5 separate regions of the Homo sapiens genome follow, and all the other regions are linked to region 4. Evidence: promoter capture Hi-C in 16 types of primary human blood cells and fetal thymus (Javierre and others, 2016). All regions are on one chromosome and are shown on one strand. The core of a region is centred on a gene start or on the middle of the fragment in contact, and the rest is flanking DNA. Distances in the headings are between cores, read along the strand shown.

Region 1 (2,700 bases), core at 20-2,519, 220 kb before region 4:
GTTTCTGGTTCTAGCTCCTTGAGGAATGGCCACACTGTCTTCCACAATGGTTGCACTAACTTACACTCACACCAACAGTGTAAAAGCATTCCTATTTCTCCACATCCTCTCCAGCATCTGTTGTTTCCTGACTTTTTAATGATCACCATTCTAACCGGCATGAGATAGTATCTCCTTGTGGTTTTGATTTGCATGAAATGCTGTTTTTAAAACTACACTAGTTGTTTACAGTACTGTTAAGGGTGGCTTAAATAAGCAACAACAGTTTCTCAATTTGAGATGACACAAACTCCCCCCACCCCCAGAAAAGCAGAAGCATTCTTTCTAAATTTTCTCTCAACTTTCTGGAGTTTCTAAATTTTCCCCCACACTCTGCTCTACCATCATACCAATCTCACAAAAGATGCAGTCATGAGGGCCTGAGAAATCACACAGTTTTGTGCTCCTAATTTTCTTCTCCAAATACAAAGAAGAAAATGCTGCATATCATTCATAATTACTCAATTTTTATTGCTCAGGACACCCACTTACTCATTTGATATACATATTGAAGGTCTGCTATATACCAGGCACTCTTCTAGTTACTGGGGATAGGGCAGCAAACAAAGCAGACAAAGTCCTTCTTCTGATGCTTCTTAGATTTTAGGGTAGCAGATCCTAGAAGGAAAAAATAATAATAAGGCAGGGTAAGGAGATAGAGAGTAAAAGATCAGGGAGTGATGTTCTATAGGGGCACAGGAGCCCCTGTCTGATAGGTGACACTGAGTAGATCTCAAGAAAGAGATAGCCATATGGTCATCTGGGGAAGGGCCCTCCTCTAGTGCAAAAGCTTTGGAGTGTGCTTGGAATATTCAAGAACATTGAGGTGGTTAGTGTGACAGGTGTGGAATACGTCAGGGGAAAGTGATGGGAGATGACATTAAAAAGGTAGCCAAGAACCATCATATGGGGTCTTGGAGGCCCTGGGAAGAAGTTTGTATTTTATTCAAAGAGCTATGGGAGACAACTGGCAAGCAGAGGAACAACATGATCTGACTTATGTGTTTAAAGAATCACTTTAGTAGCCTGTGAAAAATACATTATAGGGGACAAAGATAGAGGCAAGGAGACTAGTTAGGCGGCTGTTGCAGTAGTGCAGGTGAGAGATGGTAGTGGCGAAGGTGGTGAAGGCAATGAGAAGTTATCAGGTTCTAGGCATTTTTTCCAAGGCAAAGTCAATAGAATTTTCTGATGGATGGATATGGGGATAAGAAAGGGGAGTCATGGATAATTATAATTTTCTGTCCTGAAAACCTGAGTGATTGGAGCTGCAGTTTACTGAGTTGGAGAACACAGATGGAGGAGGAGGTAGAAGGTAGGCAAACAGGAGTTTGATTGGCACATGTGAAGTTTTAGATGCCTTTTAAATATCCAAATGGAGATTCTGAGTAGGTAGCTGGATATACAAGACTTGAATTCAAGAAAAAGGTTACAGTTGGAAATAAAATTTGGTATTTCAAACCAAGAGACTGAATGAGATCACCTAAGGAATCAGGATAGATTAAAAAATGAGTAAGTCTAAGGACTGAACCCAGAGACATTTTCCATTGCTATAAAGGAATACCCAAGACTGGGTAATTTATAAAGAAAAGAGGTTTATTTGGCTCATGATTCTGCAAGCTGTACAAGAATGGCACGTGTATCTGCTCAGCTTCTGGTGAGGGCTTCAGGAAGCTTACAATCATGGCAGAAAATGAAGAGGAGCAGGCATGTCATATGGTGAGAGAGGGAGAAAAAGAGAGAGGGGAGAAGGCACCAGGCTCTTTTAAACAACCAGCTCTCACATGAACTAATAGGGCGAAATCTCACTTATTACTATGGGGAGGGCAACAAGCCATTCATGAGGGATCCACCCTCATGACCCAAACACTTCCCACTAGGCCCCATCTCCAACACTGGGGATCACATTCCAATGTGAGATTTGGAGGGAATAAATATCCAAACCATATCACTTGGGAAGGAAGGAACCAAGAGAGAGTACAGTCTCATGGGCCAAAATGTCTCAAGAAAGAGGGAATGATTAACTACCAAATGCTTTTAATTAAATTTTATTTTACAAAGGCAGTCACTTTCTAATTCAACATAGGCTTTACTTTCATTTTCAGTTCTTCTTTTGATGTTTTTTTGGTGGAGTACCCCCAGGACTTTTCACTGATCTCATTCCACCCAGCTCAGGCCCCTTTCCATTTCATAATAGTTTCTCTCCATATCTTCCCAGAAATCTTGGCTTGGTCATTTTCAGGAATAAGGAAAGCTGAGACATGGAAAAAGAGTAAAATTGTTTGAATGAGAATGAAATATCTGCTCCAAAATCACCTCTAGGTCAATTTATACAGGATATCTCATCTCCATCCTCATTCTGTTTGCCAAGATTTTCAGGATTCATAATCATGGCACTTTAAAACTACTATTTCTGCCATTGCCACATTTGTACTAGTATGGTGCACAAATGGGTGATACCTCATAATGGAAACATTACTGGGTTTGAGGTCATCACAATATTTTAGTTTCTGGCTTGGCTGTGCTAATAAAATGCTGTGTAACTTTGGGGAAAATACCTCTCTGGCTCTTAAGAAAATAAGGTCAATATTAGTAAACAAGTTGTCAACCTGTGACCCAAGTTAGAAAAATGTCTTGTTTACAATTATGGTCAGACATTAT
Region 2 (2,700 bases), core at 189-2,688, 140 kb before region 4:
GGCCTCTCAAAATTCATGTCCTTCTCACATGCAAAATACATTCACCACATTCCAACAATACCAGAAGTTTTAACCCATTCCAGCATCAACTGTAAGTCCAAAATCCATCTAAATATTATTTAAATCAGGTATGGGTGAGACTTGAGATATGATTCACCCTGAGGCAAAATTCTTCTTCAGTTGTGAACCTGCAAAACCAGAGAAGTTATCTGCCTCCAAAATTCAATGGTGGAACAGGTATGGAATAGACATTGCCATTCCAAAAGAGAGACATTGGGAAGAAGAAAAAAGTCACAGGTCCCAAACAAGTCCAAAACCTAACAGGGTAAATTCCATTAGATTTTAAGGCTCAAGCATAATACTCTTTGGCTCAGTGCTCTATCCTCTGGGCCCACTGGAGTAGCAGCCCCACCTCCTTGGCCCTGAGCGGCAGTTCTGCCCCCTGGAACCAAGGAGGAAACCACCTCACCCTACCCAAGGCTTGTGCCCTCTAGGCCTATGGTGGCAGTGGCAGCTCTGCCTACTTCTGAACTGCCTGTGGGGTCACTCTTCCCTTTTCTTGAAGGATAATACATATTTGCAGCTGTACAGCTGTATTGACTTATTTCATAAAATCCCAGAAGCCTGACACACTCCTTCATTTGTCCTGTCTCTGTCCCTTACAGTCCAGACTGGCAGCATTTCTGCTGAGGTGGTCAAATCTCATAACCTCTTTAGCAAACATTGCCAAGCCACAATCTTTGTGTTCTCTCCAGACACACTTTCTCGTTTTTCGCAATATGAATAGGTGACATTTTTTCAAAGCTTTAAGTTCTGGCTCCATCTTGCTTGACAATTCCTTATTTAACCTCTCTCTCTCTTCTCACATTTTATATAAGTAGCAAGGAGAAACTAGGCAGTGCCTTCAGCTCTTTGATTAGAAATCTCCACAGCTAAGTACCCAAATTTATCACTTAAACATTCTGCTTTCCACAAAACACTAGAATACAACGTGGCCGAGTTCTTTGCCACTTTACAACAAGTATGCCCTTTCCTCCAGTTTCCAGTAACATATTTCTAATTTCTGTCTGAGACCTCACCAGCAACACATTTAATATTTATATTTTTACCAACATTCTGCTCATGATCACATATGTATATCTCTAAGGTAATAGCAGCATTCCCTGCAGTGTTCCTATTTTCTTTCTGAGTGCTCACCCAAATTTTCGTTAACATTCATGTTTCTACCCAGAGTCTCTTGAAGACAATCTAGGATTTTTCTAGCACACACCTCAAAATTCTTCCAATCTCCACCCATCAGCCCATTCCAAAGCCACTTCACATTTTTAGATTTTTAGAGCTTCATCCCACTTCTGGTATCAAAATCTGTGTTAGTTTTCTAGGGCTGCCATAACAAAATACTGCAGACTGACTAGCTTAAACAACAGAAACGTATTCCACATTTCTCCAGAACACAATTCTGGAGGCCAATGAAGGTATCAGCGGCTTGGTTTCTTCTGCGGCCTCTCTCCTTGGCTCCCACATGGCCACTTTCTCTCCATGTCTTCACATGGGTGTCCCTCTGTCTATATTGTCTGTGCTCTAATCTCATCTTCTTATAAGGATACCACTCATATCAGACTAGGGCCCACCCTAATGGCCCCATTTTAACTTAATTACTTCTATCTCCAAATATAGTTCTATCTTCAAATACGGTCACATTCTGAGGTGCTAGAGGTTAAGACTTCAACATCTAAACTTTGCAGAGACACAGTTTAGCTCATAACACCATCTTTCTATCAGATAATTTGACCGTTTTCATTGATTTGTAGGGTATTCTGTATCTATTAAGGAAACGGAATTCTGTGCAGTTAATAGAATTAGAATGAATCAACTCCACATGTGTTGACAAATGACGTACAATAATTTCCAAGATATATTGTTAATTTTTTAAGGTTCAAAACAGTGTGTAAAGTATGCATATATCTGTCTATATCTAGAATACCTCTGGAAAGATCAACAAGAAACCCATAACAGTAATTGCCTCCAGGAATAGTAATTCTTGGGGAGATGAAATAAATGGCTGGAGGCTAGAAAGCTTACTTTTTTCATTATGTAGCTTTGGTATTTTCTCAATTTTTTTTAATGTATTACCTATTCAAAAGAAGAAATATTGGGCCAGGTGCAGTGGCTCATGCCTGTAATCCCAGCACTTTGGGAGGCCAAGGCAGACAGATCACCTGAGGTCAGGAGTTCGAGACCAGCCTGGCCAACTGGTGAAACTTCATCTCTACTAAAAATACAAAAATTAGCCGGGTGTGGTGCTGTGTGCCTGTAATCCCAGCTACTCAGGAGGCTGAGGCAGGAGAATCGCTTGAACCCAGGAGGCAGAGGTTGCAGTGAGCAGTGATCACGCCACTGCACTCTAGCCTGGGTAACAGAGTGAGACTCTGTCTCAAAAAAGAAATATAACTTAATGAAACATTCACACATGTGCACATACATGGTGAGCAGTGGAGATGGAACAAAAGGAAAGGAGAAGACAAGGAAGAAGATCTAGAAGCACAATGCATCCTAAATTCAGACCAAAGACACGGGCAACTCAAATTCTAGAAGCAGAGGTCCCCACTCCATAGCGTTTGGGGCTGGGCCATTCACCTATTTATTCATTGAACATTCATGAGTGTTTTTCATAAGGCAGGCTGGGTGTTAGATGTTCAG
Region 3 (2,700 bases), core at 22-2,521, 200 kb before region 4:
TAATAGAAAAGGTTGGTTTAGTGAATTATTACAACTGAACAAGGAAAGTTCAGTTCATTAAGCATTCAGCAAGATAAATATGCGTTAAACTTACAGAATAGTTTCTCTAAGCTAGGGGTGATTAAAATCAAACAGTGGGAGCCAGCATGCCAGCCGATTTGGGTTGGGTAACCTTGGAAATAAAGTTTCCTGGATGTCAGGGTCTCCATGGACGATCCAGAGCCCTGCTCACCTCCCTCACTCTACTTTCTTTTTGTCTGTCTTCAGATGGAAAATCCCCACTCACTGCTCACGATGCCAGACACACCAAGGCTATTTGCCTATGAGAATGTTATCTAGACAGCAGTGCACTCCCCTAAGTCTCTGCTCAAAAAAAAAACAATTCTCGGCCCAAAGAAAACAATCAGAAGAATTCACTGATTTGACTAGAAACATCAAGGAAGAATGAAGAACGTTGACTTTTTTCCAGGATAAATTATCTCTGATGCTTCTTTAGATTTAAGAGTTCATAATTCCATCCACTGCTGAGAAATCTCCTCAAACCCAGAAGGTTTAATCACTTCATCCCAAAAATGGGATTGTGAATGTCAGCAAACCATAAAAAAAGTGCTTAGAAGTATTCCTATAAAAATGTAAATGCAAGGTCACACATATTAATGACAGCCTGTTGTATTAATGATGGCTCCAGGTCAGTGTCTGGAGTTTCATTCCATCCCAGGGCTTGGATGTCAGGATTATACCAAGAGTCTTGCTACCAGGAGGGCAAGAAGACCAAAACAGACAGACAAGTCCAGCAGAAGCAGATGCACCTGACAAAAATGGATGTATTAATTGGCTCTATAAACTATGTGCCCAGCACTATGCTGAGCTTACACTAATTGGTCAGACATGCTGTCTGCCCTCATGAAATTGGCTCCAAATGAATGAACTACTTTCATGAGCAGTTGTAGCAGGCCTGACCACAGATTCCCAGAGGGCCAGGTGTGGATCCACAGGACTTGAAGGTCAAAGTTCACAAAGATGAAGAATCAGGGTAGCTGACCATGTTTGGCAGATACTATAATGGAGACACAGAAGTGTGCATGGCCCAAGGACAAGGACCTCCAGCCAGGCTTCATTTATGCACTTGTGCTGCAAAAGAAAAGTCTAGGTTTTAAGGCTGTGCCAGAACCCATCCCAATAAAGAGACCGAGTCTGAAGTCACATTGTAAATCTAGTGTAGGAGACTTGGAGTCAGGCAGTGAGACTGGTGGGGCACGGGGGGCAGTGGGTACTTGTAAACCTTTAAAGATGGTTAATTCATTCAATAGATATTTATTAAGAACCTATGCGGCCCGGCATGGTGGCTCACACCTGTAATCCCAGCACTTTGGGAGGCCAAGGTGGGTGGGTCATCTGAGGTCAGGAGTTCAAGACCAGCCTGGCCAACATGGTGAAACCCCATCTCTACTAAAGATACAAAAATTTGCTGAGCGTGGTGGTGTGCACCTGTAATCCCAGCTACTCGAGAGGCCAAGGCATGAGAATCGCTTGAACCTGGGAGGTGGAGGTTGCAGTGAGCTGAGATGGCACCACTGCACTCCGGCCTAGGCAACGAGAGCAAAACTCCAATACAAACAAACAAACAAACACCTGTGCTAGGTCAGTCTGGCACGTAAGATGAACATCCCTACCAATACAGAGCTCACCATCTCTTATACTTAAGTGAAAAACATGGGGAAGGGGAAAGGGGAATGGCTGCTTTTGATATGTTCCCTGACACATATCTTGAATGGAGACCTCCCTACCAAGTGATGAAAGTGTTGAAAAACTTAATAACAAATGCTTGTTGGGCAAGAATGGGATTGAGGATTATCTTCTCTCAGAAAGGCATTGTGAAGGAATTGAGCCAGATCTCTCTCCCTACTGCAAAACCCTATTGTAGTAAAAAAGTCTTCTTTACTATCTTAATAAAACAGATATTGTGAGATTCACATACAAAAAGATGCATTATTTTGCTATTTGCAATAGTGAAATTCTGGAAACTGCCAAAGAAACTGACCACCACAGGTGAAGGTCTGTTCATACATAGACATTAAGAATTATGGGTTAGGCCGGGAGCAGTGGCTCACGCCTGTAATCCCAGCACTTTGGGAGGCCGAGGCAGGTGGATTACTTGAGGTCAGGAGTTCAAGAACAGCCTGGCCAACATGATGAAACCCCGTCTCTACTAAAAATACAAAAAATATTAGCCGGGCATGGTGGTGAGCCCCTGTAATCCCAGCTTCTTGGGAGGCAGAGGGAGGAGAATTGCTTGAACCCAGGACGGGGAGGTTGCAGTGAGCCAAGATCGCGCCACTGCACTCCAGCCTAGGCGACAGAGCAAGACTCCATCTCAAAAAAAGAATTATGGGTTATACTCAGCATCATGAAATATACCTGTGTAACCTACACATGTAGCTTCTGAATCAAAAATAAAATTAAAAATAACAAATTTTTAGCATGTGCCTGTGGTCCCAGCTACTTGGGAGGCTGAGGCAGGAGGATCTCTTGAACCCGGGAGGTGGAGGTTGCAGTGAGCCGAGATCGCACCACTGCACTCCAGCCTGGATGATAGAGTGAGATTCTGTCTCAAAAAAAAAAAAAAATTGTTTAAAAAAAACTATGGGTTGGCCAGGAGTGGTGGCTCATGTCGGTAATCCCAGCACTTTGGGAGGCTGA
Region 4 (2,700 bases), core at 5-2,504:
CAAAAATTAGCTGGGGTGTGGTGGTGCACACCTGTAATCCCAGCTACTGGGGAGGCTGAGGCAGGAGAAGCTCTTTAACCCAGGAGACGGAGGTTGCAGTGAGCCGACATCACGCCACCGCACTCCAACCTGGGCAACAGAGCAAGACTCCGTCTAAAAAAAAAAAAATTACAGGACTCAAGGTAAAATCCAGACAAACCCTGATGACAGTGCCTCCTTGAGCAGACACTTAACATCTCTGATCCTTTTTCTTCATCTTTAAGATGTCATTAATAACTTCTTTATACGCATGGAGATCAAATGAGATGACATATGTAAATGTGCTTTTTTTAACTGATGGATTGAAATAAACAATAAACCCAGTATCAATGAAAAAATATCACTATTGTGCCTACTGGAAGAATAGAATTGTGAGGATTCTATTCTCACAATATCCTCCTCTGCGACTAGAGGAGGGTGTACCCTGGACACAGCACTGATCACCCAGCTGCCTCTGGAGATCCCAAGGCCAAGGCCACAAGAGCAGCTGAGCAGGGACACAGTTCTTACTCTCTCACCCCATGAACCCCTCACAGCCACAGAAGCAGAGAATCAAGCCCTAGGAAATACCTGAGCTAACACCCTGACTGCTTCAGACCAGACCCCAGGAGAGGCCAGAAATCAGCACCCAGTCCACACCTCAAGTTGGCTGCCTAGCCTGGGTTCCCTGCCTCTCCAGAACTTCCCCTTTGACCCTTGACTTCAGAGCCCTGCCCAGCTCTACTCCCTCCAGGCCCTGCACAGCAGAGGGGAGCCCAGGAAACTGCAGCTCCTACTCTCAGAAGCCATTTACCTGCACTGCACCCACTGGTGGCCACAGAGAAGAATAACAGGAAGCAGAGTCTGGTCATTGTCCTCTAAGGAAAAACAAGATGCACAAGGTCACTGGCTGGCCCTTCCTTTGTCATCCTCTCGTTCTTACTTCCTAACCTTTCTGAGTCAGGAATCCTCAAATGGAAAGTGATGGGCTCATGAGCATTCTAAAACCTCCTGGAATATGCCCCACGGCTGTCCAACACTACAAATACCCAAGGGGCCATGGGCTCATTTCCCTGAAACTCTAAATCTCTAAAACTGAGACCTGAGCTGGCATCATTGCTCCCACACACATGGATCAAAAACATTTTTCTCACCAGCATGGACAGCATCCTTACAGATGCCAGGAGCTGATAGTTCCCTTCCTGTGGACACTCGGAGCTCCCCTGCAGAGGATCCTGATGAAGGGTGAAGTGCTGGTCCCTTTATGTGGAGAGCTGTGGAGAGCCAAACCACCTGAGCCCTGCCCAGCCCAACCCTGAGCAGCCTAGGCTGCTAGCCCCTCCCTCTGAAGCCCTTCCCTCTGAGGGTACCTGAGCCTGGGACCGTGGAAATGAGAAAGGACGTGCGACTGGCTGGAGGAGCAGGGAGCTGTGTTCCTGGCCACACAGGTGACTGTCGCCATCTGAGGAGGGGCATCCTGCTTTGCCAAGGCAGGCCATACAATGTAGCAGTATCTAATCAGATTCGTGGATAGGTCACAATCCTCCCCTGCGTTCTCCCTCTCCCACCTCCCCCAGATGCCCTGGCCCCCTAGACACAACTCTGTCAAGAAATCATCCTTTTAGACTGAGGTGACACCTCATGAAAAATAAATTAATTAATTAAGAATAATAATTGGCCAGGCACAGTGGCTCACACCTATAATCATAGCGCTTTGGGAGGCCGAGGTGGGCGGATTACCTGAGGTCAGGAGTTCAAGACCAGCCAACATGGTGCAACCCTGTCTCTACTAAAAATACAAAAATTTAGCTGGGTGCAGTGGCGTGCACCCGTAATCCCAGCTACTCTGGAGGCTGAGACAGGAGAACTGCTTGAACCCAGGAGGTGGAGGTTGCAGTGAGCCAAGACTGCTCCACTGCACTCCAGCCTGGGCAACAGAGCAAGACTTCACCTCAAAATAATAATAATAATAATAATAATAAATAAATGGGAAAAGAAGACATCATCCTTCCAATCTTTCCTCCAATTTCTCTATGAGGCCTTCCCTGACACCCCCATCACCAGACAAAGCTGATGGATCCTTCCTTTGTCCCACTATACACTGTCCAAACACTAATTATTGCATGTATCCTGCTGTAATTTTATTGTTTTATTAACTCTGTTTAGAAACAATTTGAAATTTATTAAATGTTGCAAAAATAACAATAATATAAAGCCACATATATGCCCTTTACCTAGATTCAACTATTGTTAATATTTCACCCCATTTGCTTTATCTTTCGTGTTCTCTCTCTCTCTCTCTATATATATATAGATATATGTATATAAAATACACCCACACACACAAAATTTTTTTCTGAACCATTTGAAGGTAAGGTACATACATCATGGGCTTTTACCTTTAAATAAATGCGTATGGGTTTTTTTTATTTTGTTTTGTTTTTTGACACAGAGCCTCACTCTGTCACCCAGGTTGGAGTGCAATGGCATGGTCTCAGCTTACTGCAACCCCCGCCTCCCAGGTTCAAGTGATTCTCCTGTCTCAGCCTCCCGAGTAACTGGGATTACAGGCACCCACCACCACGCCCAGCTAATTTTTGTATTTTTAGTAGATACGGGGTTTTGCCATCTTGGCCAGGCTGGTCTTGAACTCGTGACCTCGTGATCCACCTGCCTCGGCCT
Region 5 (2,790 bases), core at 249-2,748, 160 kb before region 4:
GGCAGGAGAATCACTTGAACCCAAGAGGCAAAGGTTGCAGTGAGCTGAGATTGCACCACTACACTCCAACCTGGGTGATAGAGTGAGACTCCATCTCATTAAAAAAAAAAAAGTTTCCAACATATGAATTTTGGAGGGACAAATACATTCAAACCGTGGCAACAAAGTTTACTACAATTTTAATGAACTAAATTTCCTCAAACAATACATATACTTAAAAAATACTAACTGATTACCTTGAACATGTCTATTTTGTATTCCTTATTTTCCCAGGATTGAAAGATTCATAACCACAAAAGAAACAATTATGTCATCCCATTTACAGCCATTTCCTGGGGTACCTTCTCAATTAGCTAAAGTTGCTTAATGACCAGAAATATCACTGACATGTTAACTAATGGTATTACCAGCACCCCTTTTTTTTTGAGGTGGAGTTTCGCTCTTGTTGCCCAGGCTGCAGTGCAATGGCACAATCTCGGCTCACCGCAACCTCCGCCTCCCAGGTTCAAGCGATTCTCCTTCCTCAGCCTCCCCAGTAGCTGGGATTACAGGCGCGTGCCACCACACCCGGCTAATTTTGTTTTTTTGTTTTTTGTTTTTTTTTTTTAGTAGAGACGGGGTTTCACCATGTTAGCCAGGATGGTCTCGATCTCCTGACATCGTGATCCGCCCGCCTCCGCCTCCCAATAATTTTGTATTTTTAATAGAGACAGGGTTTCTCCATATTGGTCAGGCTGGTCCTGAGCTCCTGACCTCACGTGATCTGCCCACCTCGGCCTCCCAAAGTGCTGAGATTACAGGCGTGAGCCAATGTGCCCAGCTGGCAGCACCACTTTTTGCTTGTTTTGTTGCTACCCTCTAAAAGGCTGGTCTCATAGCCTATATCCCTAGATTCCACTTGAACACTGTGACATTCCCTAATTCTTCCCTCTACTGTGGCTGCAGCAGTTGATTTGATGTTGAATTTCTTTAGCTCCTAACATATATTTGTCTTTCCATCTAAGTGTAAAAAGCTTTGAGCTTGTCAAAATTCTACAGTCTTTCATATTCTTCCAATCTGTAGTAGCATATATATACTGCAAGTCAAGACAACATTAGAAATAAAGTCCAAAAAATGCAATTGTGTAAAATGCAGGGTCGTCTTAATTGCACAGTGAATGAAGTGTTGGTTGGGGGCTGGTGGTGAAGCAACACAGCTGAGTATGTGGTTGTGGCTGCCAGACCCAAATCTCAACCCAGGCTGGAGTCTGATGCTACCTGGAGGCAATGCCCAGTTGACAGGGGTGATTCTGGGCCTGTAGCTGGCGGGACTCCAAGGACAGTAGCAGGGATTTCAAAAATTTTCCAGTCAGTCACACCCACTTGCTGGGGTGGTTGAAGTATACTGAGAAGGACAACACTGGAGACGCCGGGGCCAGCATCACTGGATGTTGCTCCCTGATTCCCAATGCTAGTGCCTTTGCCTCCCTGTCCTGATGAGAATATTAGCCCTCCCCATGTGAGGACAGGGCACACTTAACAAATGCATCATACCAAAATTTATATTAATTTAGGTTTTACTATACTTAAATGATAATACTTAAATTGGATTTTGTGTATTATAAGGCTGTGTCCTCCTATGGTCACAACTTCAAAGGAGGTCATTTCAGTGATGTTACTTTCCTAAATCTCAGTTTTCTCATCTCTAAAATGGGGATAATTGGAGTATCATCCAAATAGGGTCTATCTTAGGATTAAAGGAGAAAACATATGTAAAGTTCTAAACACAGAGGCTCACTCATAGTAATTACCCAATAAATGTTAGTAATGATTTTTATTATTACCAATCTCTCTGAATTCCCTTCTGCCTTTGCCCTCGCCTCCCATGCAGACTGTTCCTGCTCTCATGTTCTGTACCCAGACTCCTTCAATAGCTTCCGCACCTGTCTTCTCATCCCCAGGCTCATCCCTTCCACCCATTCTCCCTCCACTCTGCAGCTCCAGGAAGCTTCCTACTCCTACTGGATTCTTGTTGCCTTTAGCTTGGTAACAGGATGCTTTATCTGGGCTCTGGTAACCTCTCCTGACCGTATGTCCTGCAATCCCCTCTAGACAGCCCATGTTCTAGTCACAGGACCAAGGCTAGAGTGAAACAAGACACGCTCCTAGTGCACAAAATTTAAAGATTTTCGAGATTCTGTCACTTTCAATATTGTGCAACATCAGATCATGACCAGCCTCTAAAGATGCTTTCCATGGACATAAGCCTGTTATCTTAATGGTTTCTCTCTCTCTCTCCCTTCTTCCTTTGAACCCAGACTTCCTGGGTTCAAGTCCTTACTAACTATAAAACTTATAGTAAGCTATTTAACCCCTCTCCACCTCAGTTTTCTCATTTATAGAATGGGGATGATAAAAGATATCTCATAAAACTATTGTAAGATCAAATGAGTGAATATGTTAAAGTGTCAGAAGATGGACTAGCACTCTGTAAGCTTTCATCGAATATTAGCTAAAACTACACATTCTGCCAGCCTCAAGTTTTCCTGCCAAGTCCCCTTAATGTTACAGCCTAAGTAAACAAATGACCTGAAGCCCGAAACACAAACCATAGCATGGCCAGCTATTACGCTACTGACAAGAAGAAGGAGGAGAAAAAGACAGTTTCCCAAGTCAGGATATAGGGAATCATGCCATTCTCCAGCCTACCTTTTCAACTCAGTCACCTCTACGCTGTCACATACGATGTCCACCCCCATTGCAGTCTCCCTGATGCCTTTGTCCATATTAAAAGTCCTTCATTGCATGTGA

The links. Contacts are between HindIII fragments. The CHiCAGO score rates a contact against its expected background, and 5 or more counts as called.
Region 1: a contact is called between a fragment that was not itself captured here and the fragment with the promoter of ITLN2 in region 4, in 10 of 17 cell types (naive B cells, non-activated CD4 T cells, total CD4 T cells and 7 more). The highest score is 12.0, in naive B cells.
Region 2: a fragment that was not itself captured here is called in contact with the fragment with the promoter of ITLN2 in region 4 in 6 of 17 cell types (M2 macrophages, naive CD8 T cells, total CD8 T cells and 3 more); the score reaches 6.6 in M2 macrophages.
Region 3: a contact is called between a fragment that was not itself captured here and the fragment with the promoter of ITLN2 in region 4, in 2 of 17 cell types (M2 macrophages and naive CD8 T cells). The highest score is 5.8, in M2 macrophages.
Region 5: a fragment that was not itself captured here is called in contact with the fragment with the promoter of ITLN2 in region 4 in 2 of 17 cell types (naive CD8 T cells and M2 macrophages); the score reaches 5.6 in naive CD8 T cells.

What each region holds. Positions count from the first base shown.
Region 1 is chr1:160,731,961-160,734,660 of GRCh38, forward strand. LOC124904440 (a long non-coding RNA gene) reads right to left here. Exons shown (of 2, transcript XR_007066687.1): 2 at 2,072-2,293. Among named protein-coding and RNA genes, the nearest start is that of SLAMF7, 5.9 kb to the right of the region's middle. RefSeq lists an enhancer at 317-436. The HindIII fragment of the contact is 884 bases long and covers 828-1,711 here.
Region 2 is chr1:160,810,649-160,813,348 of GRCh38, forward strand. The region is part of intron 2 of LY9 (lymphocyte antigen 9); the gene reads left to right. Among named protein-coding and RNA genes, the nearest start is that of LY9, 16 kb to the left of the region's middle. The HindIII fragment of the contact is 1,273 bases long and covers 803-2,075 here.
Region 3 is chr1:160,752,839-160,755,538 of GRCh38, forward strand. SLAMF7 (SLAM family member 7) reads left to right here. Exons shown (of 7, transcript NM_021181.5): 7 at 268-1,983. The coding sequence ends at 339. Among named protein-coding and RNA genes, the nearest start is that of SLAMF7, 15 kb to the left of the region's middle. RefSeq lists an enhancer at 2,654-2,700. The HindIII fragment of the contact is 3,711 bases long and covers 1-2,700 here.
Region 4 is chr1:160,953,555-160,956,254 of GRCh38, forward strand. ITLN2 (intelectin 2) reads right to left here and starts at 1,255. Exons shown (of 8, transcript NM_080878.3): 1 at 1,173-1,255; 2 at 833-896. The coding sequence starts at 1,187. The HindIII fragment of the contact is 24,751 bases long and covers 1-2,700 here.
Region 5 is chr1:160,792,393-160,795,182 of GRCh38, forward strand. No RefSeq gene overlaps it. Among named protein-coding and RNA genes, the nearest start is that of LY9, 2.4 kb to the right of the region's middle. The HindIII fragment of the contact is 974 bases long and covers 1,012-1,985 here.